3 separate regions of the Homo sapiens genome follow, and all the other regions are linked to region 2. Evidence: promoter capture Hi-C in 16 types of primary human blood cells and fetal thymus (Javierre and others, 2016). All regions are on one chromosome and are shown on one strand. Each heading gives the region's core, a stretch centred on a gene start or on the middle of the fragment in contact. The rest is flanking DNA. Distances are from core to core; before and after follow the strand shown. Region 1 overlaps C2CD3 (C2 domain containing 3 centriole elongation regulator). Region 2 holds the start of DNAJB13 (DnaJ heat shock protein family (Hsp40) member B13). Region 3 overlaps C2CD3 (C2 domain containing 3 centriole elongation regulator).

Region 1 (4,342 bases), core at 1,419-3,918, 85 kb after region 2:
GAGAAGGACAAGAGGGGCCTTCCCTCTGCACCTCGTCAGGCTGAGGGCTGATGACCTCACTTGTGTCTGATATGACACTAGACCAAGGGCTAGTTTTGTCTGTCACCGTGGTGATCTCATTTAAGGTCCTGGGCTCAATGATGTCTTCTTCATAGTCCTCATCACTGTAGGCTGGGCCTGCCTCAGTGTCTTCACTGCTCTGCATCCTTGTAATGGGTACTGCATGCCTCAGGGACTCATGGAGCATTCTTCCTCCATTTGAAGTCTCTTCGAGAGGAGGGGGTGATGGGGAATCTGTGCCTTTATCTGGAGCTCTTACCAATGGCTCATCTGGCATTGTGCATCGTTCTTGCAGTGCTTCTGTGTCCTGAGCATCTGGGAGGGTGGTGGCCTTGTTGCTTCTACTCCTGGCTCGGTGAGAACTCAAAGCTGCTTGCGAATCCCTGGTGATAGTCTGCAGATCTGAACAGCAACACATATCACTCTTATTACAAGGTAGGGCCACAGACCCCTCAAATTTCCCACACTAGCCTTTAGCTTCAGAAGCACTATGGCAATCAGACTCTGAACAAACCATAAAGAAAATTAGTCCACCCAAGATTCAGTGAGACTATATTCAAGGCGGTACAATTTTTAGTACTTTATTCTAATATCAGAGGACCAGAATCTAATCTATAGTTGTGGATACATCTGTGGAAATGCTTTCAGAGACTATCTGCTCATGCTCAGGAATCGTTGGGAGCTGGGAGTCCTGGTGGGCATGTTCATGCTTCCAGTTACTTCAGTAACTACCTATATTAAAAATCAAAATGAGAATCCACTTATTTACCTATTTGATGACAGTTATTAAAACTACCTATTTTACTTCGAAAATAAAAGCAAGGAAATATCTATCACCCATATGATAAGGCAGGGAAGATTTACACAGAAAATAGAAGCAGCAAGGTATGTTGGAAAGAGCATAGGCTTTGGAGCCGGTCAATCTTGGGTTCGAATCTCTGTTGTCACTTGTTAACTTTGTGATCATAAGCAAACCATCCTCTCTGAGCCTATTGATCTGTACAGTGTAATCAACACCACCCACTTCATAAGGTTACAGTAGAGAATACACGAAAGAAATGGGCATACACTGTGTGGTGAATATATAACCACTTAATAAACAGAAGCTACTAGTCATCTCAAATTATTTTTGGGATGGAATGGGAGTGAATCAATTAATAAATAGACCCAGTAAATGATACATGTTTGCAAGATTATTTGAGAGGAGAAAATTAGGAACTGAAGGCAAATTTGATTCCTGGGGAATAGGGGTCACATCTCCCTCACAGCACCTAACAGAGGGCTCACTCTACAGGAGGTGCTGGCTGTTTAATATTATACACTGATGATTTTCAGGCCTCAAAGGAATGGGTAGATAGACGAAAATGAAACATTACTACCTGTAAATAGGAATAGGCATGGGGAAGCATGTTTAGTTAATCCTAATCCTTTGGCCTGAACATGCTTTCTGTCTCAGAGCAGTCTTCTTGCTTTTTATAAACTTGCCCAGCCTTCAAGGCCATGTTCTATTGGATCTCCTCCAGGAGGCCTTCCCAGATTCACGAGTTAAATAAGATTGCTACATGGCTTTGTTCTATAAGGAAGCACTTAAGAATATGACACTGTGTAATTGTATGTTTACCCCATCAGACTGTGAGCTTCTCAGGGCATGAACCATATGTCTGAATCATGTTGTATCTCTAGGGCCTAGCCTAGCATATAGCTCTGGCTTAAAAAAAACCCCACTCAGTAACTCTCTCAAGTTTCACTCATATCCATTTGTCTGATGGCTTTGTAAAAACAGCATACTGAGGCATAATGGAGCATAATGGAGGCAGGGGCAGGCTTTTGCTGTTTTTTTTTTTTGAATGGTTTCCCTGATCTAATCATCTTTCTCTTTTTAAATTCATTCTCCTTGTGAAAACCAGTTCTCATTCAGTTGTCTGCTTGCTGAGAACTTTCCATTTCTTCCAGGATAAACATTAGGCCCCACAGCTTCAATTCTTTTTTTTTTGTTTGTTTTGAGTCAGAGTCTTACTCTGTTGTCCAGGCCGGGGTGCAGTGGAACAATCTCGGCTCACTGCAACCTCTGCCCCTGCATTCAAGCGATTCTCGTGTCTCAGACTCCCAAGTAGCTGGGATTATAGGTGCGCACCACCTCGTCCAGCTAAATTTTGTGTTTTTAGTAGAGATGGGGTTTTGCCATGTTGGCCAGGCTGGTTTTGAACTCCTAACCTTAAGTGATCCACTCACCCTGGCCTCCCAAAGTGCTGGGATTACAGGTGTGAGCCACCGTGCCTGGCCACAATTCCCTTCTCTCTCCTCTTTTAATATGCCCCTTTAGAAAGATTCCCCTATTTGTTTCCACCTCTACTCCAAACAAGCCTTCATCTGTTTTGCTGTCATACTTTCTTTGTGAGAGGATTTTTCTTTGGTTGACTATAGAATATAAGCTTGATGAAGGGAGATAATGCCTGTCATATCCACCACTGTATCTTCCTGGGACAAATAACAGAATAGTGCCTGGCACAGATGGTGCTCAATAAACACTTGACTGAAAATATCCAAGCAAGTGGAAGTCAAACACAGAGCATTTATCTGAGGCCATGGATACCAACAGGTTAGGTATCTGGAAGAAGAAGACAGAAAGAAGGTTTGTACTTAGTGTTAATCAAGGTGTTTTTCTCTCCTGTTAGACAAAGAAAATTGAACTTCTTCATCCCTGTGTAGAATCTACACATTTCGCTCAAGCAAAAACAAGTGAGGGCTGAAGATGCTGATCTAGTTGATTTCCCAGTGTTCCCTGAAGCTTGCTTGATAAAGATTTCTAGGTCATGACCCTGGATCCTGATTCAGAAGGATGGAGTAGGACCCAGGAATCTCTATTTCACAGTAAGTGCCCCGGGTGATTCTTATGCTCAGGCAGGTTTGCCAATATTTGCTCTAGAGCAGTCTCAGTCTTGTCTACACACTAGAATTACCTGGGGAGTTAGAAACAATACTGATGCCTGGGTTCCACCTCAGAGATTCTGTTGACCTACAGTACAGCCTGGGCATGGGGTTTTTTAAAAGTCCCTCAATAATTCCAATATGCAGCTAAAGTGAGAACCACTGCTCCAAAGGGGTTTTTCAAAGGGTGGACTATGAATCGCTAACATCCAGAATCATCTAGGGTGCTTGTTAAAAGTGCAGACTTCTGGGCTTTCATAATTAGAATTTTAAATATGTTTATTGTTCATTATTTTCTCAGAGAGTGGCACAAGTTCAAGAATTGCTATTGAGGAACCACTCATCTAATCTACCCCACTCTTTTCTTGGCTGGGGAAACTGAAGTCTAAGAAGGGAAAGGACACGTTCAGAGTCAGACTCTAAGTCTGTACCAGAAGCCCATCAAGGACCTGGGTCAGTCCAGTGCTCTTTCCATTGCCCCATGTTGCTGTGCCATACTATTATGTCCCTCCTTTTCAAACGCAAGATGGTTAAAAAAAAAAAAAAAGGAAGAGGGTGAAAACAATTGGTCTCTATTTGTCATAGGGGCTTGTCCGAAGGAACACATTCAAATGCTTTTTGAATTAGCACCTAGTGACCATAACATCTCAACAAGAAAGGATCTGAGTCATACCTGTGATTAAGGAGCTGACTTGCAACACCAGGTTACTGGATTTCTCCAGGATACACTGGCTCCCAGGGTCTAGGCTGCTGGCACCTGGCCCAAGATGGTCCCTACAGCTCTCCTGGTGCTGTGAGATGGCCGTTTGAGTCTGAGGGCTGAGGGGTAGGAAAGGCTTGGTGAGCTTCTGGCGGAAGTACCTCTGAATCTGATCAAGCTCACTCAGATTCTTCCTATAAACAAAAGGGGGAGAAGAAGACAAAGGGGTAATTCATGGAGATTATGAACATCTCTTATGTCCCCTGGACACTACCGCTTGAGCCAAAGCCTTAATACCTCTCACTTGGTCTATTAATATACTAAGTCCCTCTCTCTCCAATCCACCAACTCATCCTTCACTCCTCTGACTACAATCCTGCTGCTGGGGGCAACTTTCTCCCCCTTTTGTCTGTCTAATGCGATTCCTCATCTGATGTCCAGCAAAAATGCCACTTCCTCAGAAAGGAACCATTCTTGACCACCATTCCAGTCCTTATTTCTGTTTACTTTGACAGAATAAAGCCCTACTCTGCGCTAACACTGTCCTTTGCTACCTCATAACCATTCCTGATCCTTCAGGCAAGCAACTTCTAAAAAGCCTTCCCTAAATTGGTTTAGGGGCTCCTCTTCTGTGCTCCATAGTTCTTTCTGCAC
Region 2 (3,906 bases), core at 1,366-3,865:
TGGTGAGGGCCAGGAGTGTTGGCTCATGTCCATAATCCCAGCACTTTGGGAAGCTGAGATGGAAGGATCACTTGAGCCCATGAGTTCAAGACCTGTTTGCACAATATGGCAAGACCTCGTCTCTACAAAAAATTTAAAAATTAGCCTGATGTGGTGGTGTGTGCCTGGGTTTCCAGCTACTTGCGAGGCTGAGGCAGGAGGATTGCTTAAGCCCAGGAAGTCGAGGCTGCAGGAGGTTGAGCCATGATCGCACCACTGCACTCCAGCCTGGGCAATAGAGGGAGACCCTGTCTTAAAAAAAAAAAAGAGTTGGTAAGGATATGAAGCAAAAGAAACTGATACACTGCTGTTGCCAGCGTAAATTAGAAAACCACACCAGAAAACTTTGGCATTGCCTTGCAAAGTGGGCGCATATACCCAAATGTTCATCAACAGAGAGTACTATACAGCCTGTGACAATAAGTCACACACACAAATACCTACCATTTGTATAAATGATACCATTTATATAAAGTTCAAAAATATGAAAAGGTAAATATGTTGCTGTGGATATTTGCAGTGTGGCACTGGAGCTGGCTTGTACTGGCTTGGGAAGAACTGGCAAATGCCACAAAACAGCACACCACTGGGTACAGGCATATGGAGTAAAGCTCTAAAGAAAAGCAAGAGAATTACAAACAGGTAGGGAGGGGCACATCGGGGCAATATTCCTTCAACAAGGAATGTTCTAATGCTGCTCTTTTTCTTCCTAAGAAGAAAAAACAAATAGAAGTTAGCTGGGTTGAGGCGAGGGTCTGTGGTGGGTGGGGTGGGAGGTTCTGAGCAGAGGTAGCAGCAGAGGTGAATGAGGAGAGGGGATGGCTGGTTTGGGCAGTGGCAGGCACTGCAGTCCATTCTGACAAGCAGTGGGTGCGTGTAGGGCAGTGGTGAGAGCTCAGGTGGAAAGGGAGGCACCAGATCACAGAGGGCCTGTGTGCCATGGTAAGCAGTTTGGAGTTCACTCGAAGTAATGAGGAGTGTGGGCTTTGCAGAACAGAGACAAGGCAGGCAGGCCCGCGAGGAAGTTGTTGTGGTCTTGCTGAAAGATGAATCCAGAGCTGGGCCCTGATTATGAGGAGGAAGAGCAGAGGAGCTGGGCTTGAGAGGTTGTCTAGGAAGCAGAATGGACTGAGCTTGGTGACCAGTTGGATTTGGGATGTGCATGGAAAACAGGGCTCTGCTGTACTCAGAGAGGTGGAGCATAACTCCCTCACTGTAAGGGTGGGCCGCACAGTGACTGCCTTCCAAAGAGTGCAATACAGCAAGTGGGGAAGGAGGGCTGGCGCGGTGGCTCACGCCTGTAATCCCAACACTTTGGGAGGCTGAGGTGGGTGGATCACTTGAGGTCAGGAGTTTGAGACCAGCCTGGCCAACATGGTGAAACCCCGTCTCTAGTAAAAATAACAAAAATTAGCCGGGCATGGTGGCACATGCCTGTAATCTCAGCTACTTGGGAGGCTGAGGCAGGAGAATCGCTGGAACCCGGGAGGCAGAGGTTGCAGTGAGCTGAAATTGTGCCACTGCACTCCAGCCTGGGCGATGGAGTGAGACTCCATCTCAAAAAACAAAAACAAACAAACAAAAAGAAAAACACCAAACAAATTCCAATTGCAGGACATTCTACAAAACACCTGACCATTATTACTTAAACTGTCAAGGTCATCAAAAACATGGAAAGTCTGAGAAACTGTCACAGTCAGGAGGCACCAGAGGAGATGCAACAGCTAAGTGTAACGTGGCATCCTGGATGGGGTCCGGAACAGAAATAAGATATTAGGTTAAAACAACTAGTAAATCTGAATAAAATGTGGATTTTAGTTAATAATAATGTATCAATATTGGTCATTATTTGTGACAAATGTACCATACTAATGTAAGATGTTAATAATAGGGGAATGTGAATGCAGTGGCTCACACCTGTAATCCCAGCACTTTGGGAGGCCAAGCCGAGCCCAAGAGTTCAAGACCAGTCTGGGCAACATGGTGAAACCCCATCTCTACAAAACATACAAAAATTAGCCAGGCATGGTAGTGCACGCCTGTGTCTCAGCTACTTGGAAGGCTGAGGTGGAAGAATCCCTTGAGCCTGGGAGGTTGAGACTGCAGTGAGGTGTGATCCTGCCACTGCCCACCAGCCTGGGTGACAGAGTGAAGACCCTGTCTCAAAAACATGATAATGATAATAATAATAATAAAATAGGAGAATGTGGATGTGAGGTATATGGGAACTCTCTGTACTGTCTTCTCAACTTTTCTAAACTCTAAAACTGTTCTAAAATAAATGTATTTTTAAAAAATTAGCCAAATGCATTTCTTCTAAAACCTTTTTATTAAAACTAATTACTGCTCTCTTTAAAAACAAAAACAAAATAAAACAGAGCCCTGTGAGTCTTCAATTTCCGAGTTGAGTGACCTTTCACAGGGTCGCAGAATCAGCCCCAGCTCTCCCCCAGTCCTTTCACTGACTCCTCTCTGTGGCAGAGCTGAAATTTGTTTAGGGAAGTGGGACTACAACTCCCAGAGTGCACCTGTGCGGTTGTCAGGAGCAACCAAGGAAGCCAACTAACAGCCTTGCTAGAGTCTGAGGACTATCCAGGGCCTGACTGCCAGCTAGCCAGCCATGGGCCAGGATTATTACTCTGTGCTCGGGATCACTCGCAATTCAGAGGATGCCCAGATCAAGCAGGCGTAAGTTGGGGTGGGAGCCAGGCCTTAGGGGTGTGCTGGGGCAGGCCCTGCCCTCTTCTCTTCCAAAACGAGCTTTCCTGCACAGCTTAGCGCAGACAAGGTAAACCTTGTTCCTCCTTTCACTTCTTGCATACCTGTATCCTGGCTTTGGTCTGGGTCAGGGCCCAGGTTGGAAATTTGAACTCTTTAGTTCCTCAATCTGCTCCCAACCCATCTCCCTTTATGCTCCATGCCCTATATCCTCTCCTGGGTGCCTTGCTTTTCCCAGCAATGAAGTGGGGACAAAGGAGCCATTTGAACTTTATCTTGAATATTATGGAGAACCAGAGGCTTGTGAACAAGGGAGTGGCCAGGCCAGATGGATGTTTTAAATTCAATTCTGGCCATGATGGAGGTTTTCAGCATTGACTAAACTACATTCCTGAATACTTCCATCGGATCTTAAGGACGTTCTGGCTCGTTCCTAAGAAAGCCTACAACAGGAGTCAGTACATTTTTCTGAAAACATGTTTTTGTTTTTTGTTTTGAGACGGAGTCTTGGTCTTGTTGCCCAGGCTGGAGTGCAATGGCGTGATCTCGGCTCACCGCAACCTCCACCTCCTGGGTTCAAGCGATTCTTCTGCCTCAGCTTCCCAAGTAGCTGGGATTACAGGCATGCACCACCATGCCCAGCTAATTTTGTATTTTTAGTAGAGATGGGGTTTCTCCTTTTTGGTCAGGCTGGTCTCAAATTCCCGACCTCTGGTGATCCACCCGCCTCAGCCTTCCCAAGTGCTGGGATTATAGGTGTGAGTCACCGCACCTGGCCAAAAACATGTTTTTTTTTTTAACAAATATTTATTGAGCGTCTACCACAAGGGTTGAGAGGGTACTTCACTCCTGCTGCAGTGGTAGCAGCTGGAGATAAATGTCGGAATCCGACATCGACACTCCCTTACCTCATGCAGCTAGATTTTGTTGCTGAATAGATGTTGAATAAGTCACCACAACTGTGATGAGTGTTACAGAAGAGGAAGTATGGGGGGCTGTGGAAGTTATCTTGGAAGGAGAGAGACCCTTTAGGAGGCTGTTCGTGGTAATCAAGGCAAAAGATGAGGCCAGAGAAAGGGGAGGGAATGGACTTGGTAATTAAGTGGATCACTGGAGGGTGAAGAAAAGAGGAGTCCAGGATAACTCAAT
Region 3 (3,871 bases), core at 1,358-3,857, 120 kb after region 2:
TGGTGCTTTTGGATTTGGGATACCTAACCCATAATTAATGTACAAAGACTAGAATAGAACTCAGCACACAGCAGATGATGCTCAATAAATTATTATAAAATTTTGCCAAGTGATATTATAAAACTGTAATTCACTGTCTCATTGAAAATTTGTAAGTATATTTTGCTTTTTTTTAACAATATGGGAATTCTCCTAAAATGTAACATATACCATATCTTTTGTATATTAAATTTTATTTTCAATGCAACTACAAAAAAAAACTTTCCAAAAATAAAAGAAGCTTTTTAATACTTTCCTTAAACTCATTCATCTATTGATTTTTTTGGTCTTTAAAAAAAATTTGTCAAAAATGGCTGCTTTGGTGGGGCAGAAAATTTTTTTTTCTTTAAAAACAAGTAAAAATTGTTCAATTTTGTGATTCACACTGCACTTGAAGAAGACTTTGTCCTGATATAGAATGTTTCAAGGTTTCTGATACACAATGGCTGAAATGGATGAGAACATCAAGGATCATTATGGAAGCTTATAATCCCAGGAGTAATGGCTGTTGGTAGTATAAACGGGGAGGAGTAGGAATGAGAGATAAATAATAGTTACTATGAGCACAGGTTTTGTTTCTGTTCTAAAGTAGTAAGGACACATGACACAGTTTGAGAGACACCAAAACAGAGATGACAGGAGCCAAACAGAGAGGTCAAATCTGAATCAAATGATGTATATTGAAACTTTCTGGATTCATAAGGCCATGGTTGACTGGCTCTCATAGACACCACACATCTGAACATTGTTAATCACAGCCATTTACAGATGAGAAATTCAAGACAGAGAGAAAGAATACCTTGCTCAAAGTCACACATATGTACACATACAATTTATTGGCTAGGGACACAGGGATAAATATATTCCTACTAGAATGTAATCTCCACAGGGCACAATTTTTGTCTGTCCTTTTTTTTTACTGTTTTATCCCTGGCACCAAGGACAGGGCTTAGCATGTAGCAAATACAGTAAGTTTTGTTGTAAAATAAATGAATGCATGATGAATGAACAAATGAGATGAGGTCTTTGCTTTTGAACAGTTCATATCTAGTTGAAAAGAAAACCATGGAAACAACTGCAGTACTGTGTGACATATGATATGATACAGGGGCAAAGTGCCAGGGGAGCAAATAGAAGGGGGCCTTTATATTGGGAAAGCCCTCCAGGAAATGGTGATGCCTGAGCTGGGTCTGAAGAGAGGAGCTGGAAGTAGCCAGGCAAAAGAGAAGGGTGACGGCAAAGGGGAAATTTTAGGAGATTACAATGCTGAATAAAGGTAGGGCAGGAATTCTTTGTGCCATGGACTCTGGCAATCTGGCAAGGTCTATGGGCCTCTTCTTTTAACAGTGTTTCTTTAAAATGCATAATGTAAAACACATAGGATTACAGAGAAATCCAATTATATTTACATAGAGTTATCAAAACTAAAAGAACTTTGTGATATAGTAATATATGTGCTTTAGTAACAAGGTCTAACTATAGGTAATAACTACTGTAGGTCTGGCACAGTGGCTCACGTCTGTACTCCCAGCACTTTGAGAGGCTGAGGTGGGTGGATCACTTGCGGTCAGGAGTTCGAGATCAGCCTGTCCAACATGGTGAAAACACATCTCTACTAAAAATACAAAAATTAGCCAGGAGTGGTGGCACAAGCCTGTAATCCCAGCTACTCAGGAGGCTGAGGCAGGAGAATTGCTTGAAGCTGGGAGGTGGAGGTTGCAGTGAGCCGAAATCGTGCCACTGCACTGCAGCCTGGGCGACAGAGCAAGACTTTGTTTCAAAAAAAAAAAAAAAAAAATCAAAACAAACAAAAAAACCCCCCTAACTATTGTAATTTCAAAGAAATCATAGTTATAAGTGATATTCTAAGATATCTGCAATAATGATGTGATATGGAAATACCTGTGATTTCTATTGTTGACAATATCACAGGTACTATTACTAGGATCTACTGCCTATATTCATAATGAGAGGAAATATGTTAAATTTTAGCTAGAGGTTGCTAAAAATAAAGATGTAATTATTTTCCTATCCAAGGCCACTAACCCGGAGTTTGAACTTTTCACGGATCCCTTGGATGTTTAAGGACCCAATGTTAAAAACACCTGGCCCTAGGTGCATTAGGAAGGCCTGAGTTGGCAGGAATGCAGAAGGAAGAAATCTGAGAAATTTAATAAAGAACAAGTTAGGGATCCGATGATTTGACAGTGGATAAGGAAAAGAGAAGTATCTATCTAGGTTGAGACTCAGGTGGCTGGACTGGGGAATTTACGATATGCAACAAGTTCAGAAAAGCTTTCATGTTGCTTAAACCTTTAGGCTTGAGAAATAAATATTTATCAGTTGAGATAATTAACAGATCCTGCCATGATTTGAAAGATTTGTGAAGAAAGGAGCACACCCTGAAGAGTTAGACATGCTCCTGGGTAGGTGAGGAGAGCATACCTTTCAAGCTCAAGTGCATTGCTCTTTCTACTAGGATGCTGACTGCAAACGTTCCATCCAAATCAGCAGGGCCCTCCTGCGTCAGGCGGACTTCAGCTGTGGTGCTGCTGCAGGGGACCTGGGTGGAGGCAGGAGACTTCTGGTGGCAGGAGATGACTTCTGGTGGAGAGAGCTGGACCTCATCATTCCTTCTGGGGAGCTGCTCAGACTCACTGTGGCTGCTGCAGTCCATGGAGTCCAGCTCATGAGTGGGCTCAAGGTGTGAGGAAAGAGAGGAAAGAACCACATGAACTCGCAAGGCAGCTCCTGAGAGGTTGGAAGCATTTCGTCCAAACAGAGGATACACACCTAAAAGAAGATGGAGAAGAATAAGGCTAGTCAAGCAGGAACCAAGACCAAGCTTGGAGGAAATACTCACTGAGGGTGCTGTGGTCCTTTCTCCTTTGAAAGGTCTACAAACCCCAATACAGCAATTTGCAAAAGAAACTATGAAGCTGGTAGAAAACATGAAAACTTTTACCCTGCCCTAACTATCTTCAATAATGAAAAGTAGGCTGAGTGTGGTGGCTCACACCTGTAATCCCAGCACGTTGGGAGACTGAAGTGGGCAAATTGCTTGAGTCCAGGAGTTCAAGAGTTTGGGCAACATGGTAAAACCCTATCTCTACAAAAAACACAAAAATTAGCTGAGCATGGTGGTGTGTGTCTGCAGTCCCAGCTACTCAGGAGGCTAAGGTGGGAGGATCACCTGAGCCCAGGAGGTTGAGGATGCAGTGAGCCATGACTGCGCCACTGCACTCCAGCCTGGGTGACAGAGCAAGACTCTGTCTCAAAAAACAAAACAAAATAAAACAAACAAACAAAAGTAATGAAAATAGTAAGATCTCTGATTTAAAGCCAAAGCCAAATGACTACCAGGCAGAGCTGTTGTGGAAGGGATTCATGCGCTGAGAGGCAACAAGACTTAGAGAAGTCTAAGATTTGATGAAATCAAGAGTGGTCTATTTTCTCTTCCTCGTGTCTCATGGGCTCCTGTTTTTCGACCTTCTCCCTATCAGGAGGCTGTCTTGACACTCAATTTAGCTATGTTTCACTAGGGTTCGGGCGATATTTTGGGGGGGGGTGGGGGGAAGTAGGAGGTTAGCAGGAGACCAGAAATAAATACAACGGAGTTAATATTTGTTGAGTGTTTTTCATAAGCCAGAATCTCAGAGGAGTTAAATAAACTGCCAACATCACTCTGGCAGTAAGTGGCAGATTTAAGCCCAGAGACTTGAATTTTACTAACTTGCTGAATATTAAAATGAGATTTATAAAACAGAAGGAACTAATAGTTCCTTCTGAATCTCAAAGTTTGCTTCATTAGATTCACTTCAATTCAGGAAAA

What was found. The method cuts DNA at HindIII sites, captures the fragments that hold promoters and counts their contacts. A CHiCAGO score of 5 or more calls a contact.
Region 1: a contact is called between a fragment that was not itself captured here and the fragment with the promoter of DNAJB13 in region 2, in 4 of 17 cell types (non-activated CD4 T cells, naive B cells, total CD8 T cells and 1 more). The highest score is 5.9, in non-activated CD4 T cells.
Region 3: a fragment that was not itself captured here is called in contact with the fragment with the promoter of DNAJB13 in region 2 in 2 of 17 cell types (non-activated CD4 T cells and naive B cells); the score reaches 5.5 in non-activated CD4 T cells.

Annotation. Positions count from the first base shown.
Region 1 is chr11:74,033,817-74,038,158 of GRCh38, forward strand. It overlaps C2CD3 (C2 domain containing 3 centriole elongation regulator), which reads right to left. Exons shown (of 33, transcript NM_001286577.2): 30 at 3,662-3,882; 31 at 1-462. Among named protein-coding and RNA genes, the nearest start is that of UCP3, 27 kb to the left of the region's middle. RefSeq lists an enhancer at 2,835-4,034. The HindIII fragment of the contact is 356 bases long and covers 2,491-2,846 here.
Region 2 is chr11:73,948,411-73,952,316 of GRCh38, forward strand. DNAJB13 (DnaJ heat shock protein family (Hsp40) member B13) reads left to right here and starts at 2,616. Exons shown (of 8, transcript NM_153614.4): 1 at 2,616-2,727. The coding sequence starts at 2,660. The HindIII fragment of the contact is 10,163 bases long and covers 1-3,906 here.
Region 3 is chr11:74,071,769-74,075,639 of GRCh38, forward strand. It overlaps C2CD3 (C2 domain containing 3 centriole elongation regulator), which reads right to left. Exons shown (of 33, transcript NM_001286577.2): 24 at 2,485-2,832. Among named protein-coding and RNA genes, the nearest start is that of UCP3, 65 kb to the left of the region's middle. RefSeq lists an enhancer at 803-872. The HindIII fragment of the contact is 550 bases long and covers 2,333-2,882 here.